Regions from separate parts of the Homo sapiens genome. Here all the other regions are linked to region 4. Evidence: promoter capture Hi-C in human tissues and cell types (Jung and others, 2019). All regions are on one chromosome and are shown on one strand. The core of a region is centred on a gene start or on the middle of the fragment in contact, and the rest is flanking DNA. Distances in the headings are between cores, read along the strand shown.

Evidence for each region. Contacts are between HindIII fragments. The study calls those that stand out against the background at their distance.
Region 1: a fragment that was not itself captured here is called in contact with the fragment with the promoter of CDH20 in region 4 in 1 of the 25 tissues and cell types used here (aorta).
Region 2: a contact is called between a fragment that was not itself captured here and the fragment with the promoter of CDH20 in region 4, in 2 of the 25 tissues and cell types used here (hippocampus and mesendoderm cells).
Region 3: a fragment that was not itself captured here is called in contact with the fragment with the promoter of CDH20 in region 4 in 2 of the 25 tissues and cell types used here (bladder and mesenchymal stem cells).

The regions. Positions count from the first base shown.
Region 1 is chr18:60,652,471-60,655,170 of GRCh38, forward strand. No RefSeq gene overlaps it. Among named protein-coding and RNA genes, the nearest start is that of MC4R, 280 kb to the left of the region's middle. The HindIII fragment of the contact is 6,274 bases long and covers 1-2,700 here.
Region 2 is chr18:62,116,230-62,118,929 of GRCh38, forward strand. All of the region lies in intron 14 of PIGN (phosphatidylinositol glycan anchor biosynthesis class N), which reads right to left. Among named protein-coding and RNA genes, the nearest start is that of PIGN, 69 kb to the right of the region's middle. RefSeq lists an enhancer at 1,532-1,701. The HindIII fragment of the contact is 3,092 bases long and covers 1-2,700 here.
Region 3 is chr18:62,171,793-62,174,492 of GRCh38, forward strand. All of the region lies in intron 1 of PIGN (phosphatidylinositol glycan anchor biosynthesis class N), which reads right to left. Among named protein-coding and RNA genes, the nearest start is that of PIGN, 14 kb to the right of the region's middle. The HindIII fragment of the contact is 3,342 bases long and covers 1-2,700 here.
Region 4 is chr18:61,332,179-61,334,878 of GRCh38, forward strand. It overlaps CDH20 (cadherin 20), which reads left to right and starts at 1,252. Exons shown (of 12, transcript NM_031891.4): 1 at 1,252-1,649. The HindIII fragment of the contact is 19,388 bases long and covers 1-2,700 here.

The DNA.
Region 1 (2,700 bases), core at 107-2,606, 680 kb before region 4:
TCCAATTTTGTACTTAGCTAAAATGGCAGTACAGAAAAAAGATCAAGTACTTAAAAGTATGTAAAAATGACAAAACAAATAAAAAAGCACTTTACCATGCCTATATATGAACACTAGCATACAGATTTCCTATTAACAAAAATGTTACCTTTTATAGGGTAATTAAGAAGTGGGTTTCCTGGGTCATATAATAAATACATGTTTAACTTTATAAAAAATTGCCAAACCATTTTACAGTGGCTGTACAATTTTAAATTCCCACAGCAAAGCATGAGTGTTCACATTGCTTTATATCTTTTCTGACACTTGGAATTTTTAGTCCTTTTTATTTCAGTTCTTCTAATACATGTAAGGTGGTATCCCGTTGTGGCTTTAATCTGAATTTATCTAATGGCCTTTTTAAAAATTTTTCAAGAACTAGAGAAGACTGAACATTTTTATTTATGGAATGTTGGGAACAATAGAAGGTTCTTAAGCAGATAATAGGATATAGCATATACATAGATGTCAAGACAAGTTTCAGTTTGTGCTTTCTTTAGCTCCCATTACAACCCATCTCTTTAATTAAAGTTTGCTGACACATCCCAGAATTTGGCATAATCCTTTCCAGTCTTGGCTCAAATAAAATAATCTGTGAAGATTTTAAGTGACTGAGCTGCTGGGATCAGTGCAGGATCTACTGACATGGGTTCTCCAGGGCTTTGCCATGCTTGATGTTTTTGCAAAGACTGCCATTGCAGAGGCAGGATTGGGAACACTAACTAGAATTCAGCAGGTCTGGAGTCCAAGAGGGTCTCCAAAATAGTCACTACCTAAGCCAATGCAAACTCCTCCTGCCTCCAACCACCGTGACAACTGAACACTGGGTAACCTACATAAAGTCTCCTTCTCTGTTAAGAGGGATGCCTATGTGTTCTTATAGCCCTTCATTCATTGCCTGAATTGTCACTCATATGCATGCTACATAATTGTATAAATAATTCTAAATGAGTTGAAAAATAGAATATGAATTGTATTTAATTTGCCAAATGCTTGATGAAATTAAGCAGAAATGCAACTTTGATGGTGTTTTCTTTACTCCTTTACAAAATGGAAGGAAGAAAATCTTATTTTCAGGTGATCTGACACCAATAGAGAAATAAGAACCATCATAAAGACCTCATCATGGCCATAATTTATAATTTCTGTAACCTCAAATTATCAGAATTTCTACTTCCAAGCAGAACCATATCTTACCCAACACAGAGCTGCTTTGTCCATGCATACCATGACCATAAACATGGACATATTGTGCTTTGGGAGGCTGAGGCAGGAGGACTGCTTGAGGCCAGGAGTTTGAGACCAACCTGAGCAACATAATGATATCCTGTCTCCACAAAAAGTAATAATAGTTAAAAAAACAAAAAAAGTCTCAGCCCTCAGCCACTGGAGACACTGAGACAGAAGGATTACTTGAGCCCAGAAATTTGAGTTTACAATGAGCTTTGATTACACCACAGAACTCCAGCCTGGGTGACAGAGGTAACTTGTCTCAAAAAAAAAAAAAAAAAGGAGATATTCCATGTTAACCACTGCCATCTCCTTTCCTATTATCAATTATCATAGATTATCCAGACATAATATTTTATTAAGTATGAAATTTCATAGTCAGAAATTTGTGTTGCACGATGTAATTTGTTTAACCTTCTTATATTTTAACTTTCTTTGGTATCTTATTTTTTACATTAGCAAATAATGTAAGCTTGAAAATTTAAAGTATTTTTGCCTCTTCCAAGTAAAAACTAATTATCCTAGGATTCTACATCCATTTTCGTTCTTCTTTTCATATTTATTCTGAGGGTAATCTCATTAGAGGTAGAAATAATATTTAATAACACTGCTATGGGGGGCAGTAGAAAGCAAATAATTCAGGCTCTGCTCTTTCTGCATAACCTGAACCCCTCTGTTTTGTATTGGCAGGTAATGTGAATGCCTTCACTTGGATGTGCCTCCTATTACTGAAGAACCCCTCATGATGTGTCCTTGTGTCATTCAGCACTTCCACAGACCTCTTTGGAAGTCTCAGCTGCTTTCCCCGCACCACACTAGGGGTGCTGGTTTTAAAACCAAGATTTAAAACATAACAAAATACACAACAGCTTTGGTTTTTGGGCCCTCCCCTAGGCCAGTTGGGACTTTTCTGTTCTCTCCATTCGCCATTCTGCCTTCAGTTTTATCCTAGTTTGTGATGGAGGAATGGATAAGGTATTGGGTGATTCTTCTGTGTCTGAGCTTTACTCATTTTCAATCCCTTTTACAGCCCATCCTCTGGCCCAGAAGAGGTTTGTTTCTGCCCTTTTTTATCACATGACCTAACTTTATTTCAGACTTTTTGGTCCATACTATCAATTCTATACCCTGAGTACTCCAGACTTCTCTGAACTGTATAATTACTGCCAATTGAAAGTGCTTTGACTGAATTCATGGTATCCCATTGCAAGACTTCCCATAAAGCTACACTAATCAAGCAAAAGGATACTTTCAAAAGGATAGGCACTTAGATCACTAGAGAAGAATATAGTCTAGAAATAAACCTACGCAAGTATAGTAAATTAATTTTTGACAAAGATGCAAAGATAGATATATTAATTGAGAAATAAGAGGTACCCAAAAAGGGATCTTGATCCATATCTCACAATGTGTGCAAAAACAAACTCAAAC
Region 2 (2,700 bases), core at 98-2,597, 780 kb after region 4:
GTGCATAGGCATTTTTTGGAAGGCTATATCTAAGTTGAATTTCCCAAATTTCCATAAAAGCTTTCTAGTTGACCTCCTTCCTCTTGCTCTGATCCACTCAGCTTCCTAAAATACTGATTGCATCCTCTCACTTACAATTGATATGGGCATCTCACTGTCTACTTCATCAATTCTAATCTTCCTGGACTATTGATGACCCTCTGCTGCTACTTCACTTAATTTCCCATTATCGCAAATGTGTACCCTCAGCTGCATAATGGTGAAACTCTTCAAGCTTCACCTAGCTGGTATCATAAAGATGTTCCCCTCTTTGCTTTCTAAAATCAAATATTCATCATCCTTTATGGTCTACTCCAAATCTCACTTCACATCATTAGCACTTCAGTTAGTGGTCTAATGATCAGTTTATTTCTCTTCAATTAAATTTTAGCCTCCATGTGGGCCAAGATAATGTCTTATATTCCATTAATATCCACAATAATACTTAGCAAAGTGCTAAAGCACATAAAATGAATCAATAAATTTTGAATACAATGCTATCAAAATATTGCAGACCTAAAAAAGGAAGAAAAATAAGAGACTACCATACGTTGCCATTTGTAATGTACCTAAAATTTAAAATAAAAAGAAAGGAAAAAAAGCTTGTCTGAAGCTAAATTACTTAAGCTAATTTAACAGACATTCTGTTAAGTGAAGTCTTATGAAGAATAAGAGAAAAAAATTCTTAAGGAGAAATATTTACATTATATATTATGTTATGTTATATTATATTGGAAGTATTAAGGTAAAGAAACAGGAGTCAGGGTAATTTGTAATTTTTCCTAAATGCACTATTTATAAAACTTGGGACATGCCAAAGGTAGACATATCAAAGATTTGCAATATATCTGGAATTCACCAAATGTTCTATACAAGCCTCAATGTATCACCATGACATTAAAGACTCTCATACACTTGTCCCCAAATATACGTTTTATTTTTAGTTTTCCATCAAATTGAGAGGGGATATAAAGTAAATTTTCTTGGTATCACATACTTTAAACATAAAGAGGTTTTGTAAGAAATATAAAGTCTAGAATATAGAGTAAAATATGTTCAGATTTATGTAAACAAAACCAAATAACAACAAAATAAATGGGGGTTGGCAGAGGAGTAATTAAAGGAATGCCATATGTGAACTAAAATGAACAAGGGAGATCTATACATATAAACATGGATAAATCCTGAAAACCAAACTAAATAGAAAAAAGAACTGTTAAATAAAATAGATTTTTAAAATAGGGATTGAAGTGTATTACACCATTTTATTCCTCAGCCCCCCCCTCTAAAAAGAATCTAAATATGGTAAAATGTTAACATTTTCTTAAACCTGAGTTGTGGGTACAACAATTTTTATTATATCCTCTATTCTTTTCAGCATGTTTGAAATATTTTATAAATAGAACTTGAAATATAACAAGAAGGATATACATATATCATGTATACATATGTATTCTTGTCTACTTCATCAATTCTATTCTGTCAATTCTTGTCTACGTCATCAAAGCTATTTTTTTTAGCTCCCACATATGAGTGAGAACATGTAAAATTCGTCTTTCTGTGGCGGCCTTATTTCACTTAACATAATGATCTCCAGTTCCACCCATGTTGCTGCAAATGACAGGATTTCATTCTTTTTTATGAATGAATAATATTGCAATATACAAGACGCATCATGTATATATACCATATTTTCTTTATCCCTTAATCCACTGATGGGCACTTGGATTGATTCCATATTTTAGCTACTGCAAGTAGTACTGCAATAAACATAGGAGTGCAGATTATCTCTTCAATATATTGATTTCCTTTCTTTTGGATATTATTGGATATTATTTAGATTATATTCCTGTATATATGTATACATGATATAGATAGATAGATACATAATAAACTGCAACTTTGCCTCCAAAGAAAAAGACTATAAGACTGGAATACAGGAGGAAAAGTGACTTTTTATTATTGTTTGTATAAATTTTATTGTGTGCATGCATTACTTGTTCATTAACACTTTTAAATAAAATGACTAAAACACTAAGATTTAACCATAACTTCTGGTTATGCCAGAGAAGCTTTGGGCATAGCAATGCTCCCACCAAGAACAACTAGAAAGCCCAATAAAATAAATTTGAAGGTACCAAAACAATCAAGTAATGAAAGGCTAAGATCCTAGAGAGAAGGAAACCACAGGGAAGTAATCCAAAATTCTACAAACTGTAACTCTGAGGGAATCTACCATTGTTATTCTTGGCACAAAGCAAGAGGCTGAGAATTTGGGGATATAGCTGCTGCCAGGAAGTAGAGAATCCAAGAGTCTTTGGCAATCTTGGAAGACTGGAGAGATAAAAATTAAAGTTTTTAGCTGCCAATGCAGCCAGAACTTGAGGACCTAAAAAGGAAGAAAAATAAGAAAATAATATACATTTTCATTGTGGATTTTTTAAGAAAGACATTTTAAAAGTGCATCTGGAATTTTAAACTAACACATATTCTGAGGTGAAATCTTAAGAAGAGTGAGAGAAAGAGCTTTTATAAGAAAGAAATATTATATTATACTATATTATTCAGAGAACTCAGGTAAAGAAAGAAAGGCCAAGTCTTGATGAGAAAAGAGGTGAAAAAAAAAAAAGGTAAGTCTGACACTCATTTGTATAGAACAAG
Region 3 (2,700 bases), core at 77-2,576, 840 kb after region 4:
TAAACGCATCTTACATTCCCAGAATAAACCCCACTTAGTCATTAAGTATTATCCTTTCTACATATTGTTGGTCTTAGTTAAAATTTTACCATTTTTTGCAGCAAAGTTTATGAAAGATATAAGACTATAATTTTCTTTTCTTATATCTTTCTGTGGTTTTGGTATCAGACAATGAGTTGGGAAATGCTGTTCCTTCTTGTACTTTTTGGAAGAGTTTGTGTAAAATTTGTATTATTTCTTCCTTTATCGAATAACAAAATTCACCAATGAAACCACTGGCTTGGGGTTTTCTTTGTGACAAGGTTTTCAACCATATATCCAATGTCTTCACATATATAGATACAGATAAACACATATAGATATTCAGGTTATCTATTACTTCTTAAGTAAGCTTTCGTAGTTTTTAAGGAATTTATCCATTTGTCCATTTCATCCTAACTGTCAAATTTATTGACTAAAATTGTCCATAATATTTACCTATTATCCCTTTTTCCTGTCCTGCAGTCCAGGATCCAGTCTAAGGGCAAGTATCACATTAGTTATTCAAAATAAGTCATTTTTCAAGTACTTAATTCCTTTCAGTTAGATCTTAAATTCTATCCAGAGCTAAAGTACATATGGCATATTTAGATTTACAGATGTTCACTTTGATTTAAACACCTCCTCTTTATCATGGAAATAAATCTTAGTACTCTAATATGTACTTACACATATGTACTTAACTTAGTACTCTAATAATGTACTTAACTTATAAGTACATTAAGATGTATTTGTAAATGCAAATGTGCATTTGTAAATGCAAATGTATATTTGTAAATTGTAAATGTAAATGCAAATGTATATTTGCATTTACAAATAACTCCCTGGGCTCATGTTCTTTCTTGTCCCATTTGCCACTGCACTGCTTTGCTAAGTTAAGTATCAAAGTTTATGTGTTAAAAGATAATATAAATTTTCCAAGGTTTACTGAAGTAACAAAACATTTTATTTCAGAACTTTGACCATCTTAAAGTTATAATAGCCAACACAAAAATCTAGTTCTGTTACATAATAAGAGTGGATTCTAGTAAAGCCACTGTTACTGTTTCCTTATCCATAAAAAAAGACACTGTCAGCCCTACTCCATTACAGAAGTATTATGGGAAATAAGTAGACTCCCCAATGACACCATACGAACACAAAATATTAGCAATACTAAAAATAACTAGATTGTGAAGCAACCCAACTCATATTTTTAAAATCAACCTGTAAATAGTTGACTTTACATTATGCTGAAGAAAGCAATAGAAGAGACAAAGATATATTTTCCTGCCAAATTGGTAATTAAGATTGGGACTTCTTATTGGTGATCCAAATCATGCAAATAAACTCTGTAAATAACAAGCATTTTGACAATAACTCTATTCAGCCATTTATTAGGTTACGGTCTACAAAATTTTAAAACGCAACTTGGTGTCTATTCTGTTTATTTATTTTTGAGACAGTAGCCTCACTCTGCCACCCAGGCTGGAGTGCAACAGCACAATTTCCGAGCCTCAGACAATCCTCCCACCTCAGCCTCCCTAGTAGCCGGGACCACAAGGTGTGCCACTACACCTGGCTAATTTTATTTTACTTTTTCTAGAGACTGGGTCTCACTGTGTCACCCAGGCTGGTCTTGAACTCCTGGGCTGAAGCAATCCTCTCACCTCAGCCTCCCAAAAAGTGCTGGGATTACATGTGTAAGCCATTGCACCCAGCCTTGGTGTCTATTTTGGATGCACTTGGAGATCATGTCCTTAGCGGATTCTGGCATTAGGTACATTACTAAAATTACCCAAACTTTGTATTTCTTACCTGTAAAATGCAGATAATACTGATGAACTATAAAAATGGTTGTGAGGATTAGAATAAACGTATGTCAAGTACCTAGCCCAACACTTGGCACTCAGTAAATGATAACACTTCAGTTTTGCTTCACAAAGATAAATTAAACATTATGAAATAAGAATAGTCATATGGTCACTAAATTCTGCCAATTCAACCACCTAATTAATTCTCTCCCTTCATCCTTTCCAATTGGAACACAAGGAAGAGCAACAAATAGGTGGCAAAAGCTAAAAAGCCTTCCATAATTTCACTATTAAAACTGATCATTTCTCGGCCGGGTGCGGTGGCTTACGCCTGTAATCTCAGCACTTTGGGAGGCCAAGGAGGGCAGATCACGAAGTCAAGAGTTCGAGACCAGCCTGACCAATGTGGTGAAACCCCATCTCTACTAAAAATACAAAAATTAGCTGGGCATGGTGGCGGGCACCTGTAATCCCAGCTACTCAGGAGGCTGAGGCAGGAAAATCACTTGAATCTGGGAGGCGGAGTTTACAGTGAACCAAGATCATGCCACTGCACTCCAGCCTGGGCGACAAAGCGAGACTCCAACTCAAAAAAAAAAAAAAACTGATCATTTCTCATCTTCTCATTGTCTGCCTTAGAAACACTTCCATGGTAGCTCCTAGTTCACTGCTGTAATTACTTACTTTTTCAGTTTTACATACCAAATTATATGATCTTTTAGACACACTCCCATTCACTTCTATATTCACAACATTCTTCCACTTGTGACTGACCCATTAATAGCTCCTTAGTAAATGTTTATTGCCTATATGAAGAAATGGCATATTATAAAGCAAAGGCAATTGAGTCAAACTTTGAGTTCACAAA
Region 4 (2,700 bases), core at 2-2,501:
TGTCACATAACAAGTTCTCCATAAACATTAGCTATTCTGCTATTAATAATCATTGTTATAACTATGAGTTCTAATTCTAGGCCTGCTGAAAGCTATTAAAATATGGCATGACTGCCTTAACTGGGATACTATTTCTATTGTCACACACTTGGGAATCTTATTGGATGTTTATATATATCATTTTATCAGTTCTTTACACACATTGATCATTTGGCCACAGAGCAGTTGTACAAATAGATTATTTAGTAACCTATCAATTCAATCAAAATAACTTGCTCTATTACAATCAGTGATGGGGGAGGAAATCCTCCAAGCACCTTGCTTGAAGAGAAATGTAGAAACCACATCGGGCAAAAAGTCCCCCTCCAGCCACTGTGAAACCCAAGTTGTCGTCAGTAACTTGACATTCTAGGGTAGGAATCAGGACAGGAGAGAGGTGATCTCTCCTTTTGACCTTGTGTATTCTGACCTCAGAAATAAGAGCTGGAATTGCCTTCTGGAATGGGCCTGTCACAGTATTGTGTGATTTGGGGGACCCCCTTCATCTGGGAGAGAAGGGTGGTCTCAGCTTCCACCTCAGAAATTTCTGACCCTTAATATACCTCCACCCCATCTCTAGTTAAAGGCTTAAAACTCTAAGATTTTCCTATGAGGACAAAAAGAAAAGGAAATCTGAGCATTTGAAGAAATTCTTAAAAGTCGATGAGTGAGGTTTCCCTCACACATGCCATCTTCCCCTACCTCTCCTCTTGAAAACAATGTCTTTTGCACCCTCAAGGTCAAGGTTAAACCCGAGTTGGTACTCATTTCCTTTCTGATTTTATTTGCCTTATCCTGTTCTACTCCTCAATTGCCTCTTCCAGAATCTGTGCAAAATAATTACCTCAACTTCAGGGGAAAGTTTAGATGTAAATACCCCCGCCCCCCTCCCCACGTCCACACATCCCCTTTCTTCTCTCTCCCTCTTAACATTTCCTTACGCTCTCAGCCAATAGAGGAGTTGAAACATTTAAATGCGGTATCTAAACTGCATTTAAAGAATTAACCCATTTTGCCCCTCACTGGTCTAAACCACAGGGTGCCAACCGGACGTTAATTGCTTTCATCTGGTGGGGTTCCAGACAGCTCCTCAGAAGGAAGGAGCGCACATTCCTGGCACCAATTGGCTAATTCAATTTACTTCAGCGGCATTAGCCTCTGTCAGAATATTCATGAGCAGGGGAATGAGGACCCGCGGTACAGGCAGGCAGCAGCCACTCCTGCTAGGGAAGGCGCGAGGGAGGGGAAGCGGACCGCGCGCCACGCTCGGGGGACGGTGACCGCGACCAGGGGGCTCTTCTCACTGGACAGGCCGAACGCGGTGGCCGCGGGAGGGCAGGGCAGGGCATCGGCGGGGTTGGTGCACTTGGCAGTACCCCCCAACTCCTGGCAACCGCACGGAGACTTTGCGAAACATCCGAAGGCAGAAAAGCTGTGACACTTCTGACAGAGGGGGTAGGGGGGTGGGGGGCGGGGACAGCGCCGCGAGCAGGGGTGAAGAGACCCAGCGGGGCACCAGCCGCCCAGTGGGGGAGGCAGCTACGTGAGCAGAACGCCCGCCCTGGAGCAGTTAGGACCGAAGGTCTCCGGAGAGTCGCCGGCGGTGCCAGGTAACGCAGAGGGCTCGGGTCGGGCCCCGCTTCTGGGGCTTGGGACTCCGGGCGCGCGGAGCCAGCCCTCTGGGGCGAAATCCCCGGGCGGCGTGCGCGGTCCCTCTCCGCGCTGTGCTCTCCCAGCAACTCCCTGCCACCTCGACGAGCCTACCGGCCGCTCCGAGTTCGACTTCCTCGGACTTAGTGGGAGAAGGGGTTGGAAATGGGCTGCCGGGACTGGGGGAGCTGCTCTCTGGAAGCAGGGAAGCTGGGGCGCACCGGGGCAGGTGGAGGACGTGGCGCGCTGGGAGCGGGGACTGCGCGCGCCTGGGGATGGTGACTGGGGATCCAGGAGCGCGGCTTGTGGGGGCGCTTGGCACGGCTTCACCCTCGCTGGCCCCGCAGGCGGTGGCGCCTCCCTCCGCCTGCAGAGGGGACAGGGTGGCCGCGTCCCTCGCACAGAGATGTGCGCCGGGAAGGGGACCAGAGAGCCAGGCTCCGGGGAGGCGCAGGCACCTACGGGGCCGATCCCTGGTCCGTGCCTCGCGCCGCGCCCCCGCCGGAGCTCGGCTGTGGGAGGAGAATGTGGTGGGTACTCGAGTCCCCGCCACCTGCCGGACTTCGCCAACTCCCCGGATTTCCTGTCCTCGGGCCCTGACACTCCCAAGGAAAGCTCTGAATTGCGCTCGCTGTTTGGTTTTTGCTTGTTGTAGTTACTCTGGGGGAAGAGCCGGGGGCAAGGGGGTCAAATGGGGCTAAAGTTTCAGATTTGCAAAGAGAACGTTACCGAGGACTCTCAACGTGTCCTTAGCAATCGGAGAGACTGCAGCAGCCTTTGCCTAGCTATCCGCCTCTGGGGCAGCAGTGGGGGCTGAAATCTGGAAGGCAGCCCGGAGGCAGCGTCAGAGCCTTGTTTTGTTTTGTTTGTTTCTGCCGAGACCAGGCTGGAAGTGAGAGGGGATAGTACCAGACAATCGGGGAGTTGGTCGCCTGGTAGATTCAGAGTTTACTATGTTGTTGCTATTATTATTAATGCTCTTGTTATTGGCACGAGCACCAGGAACAATTT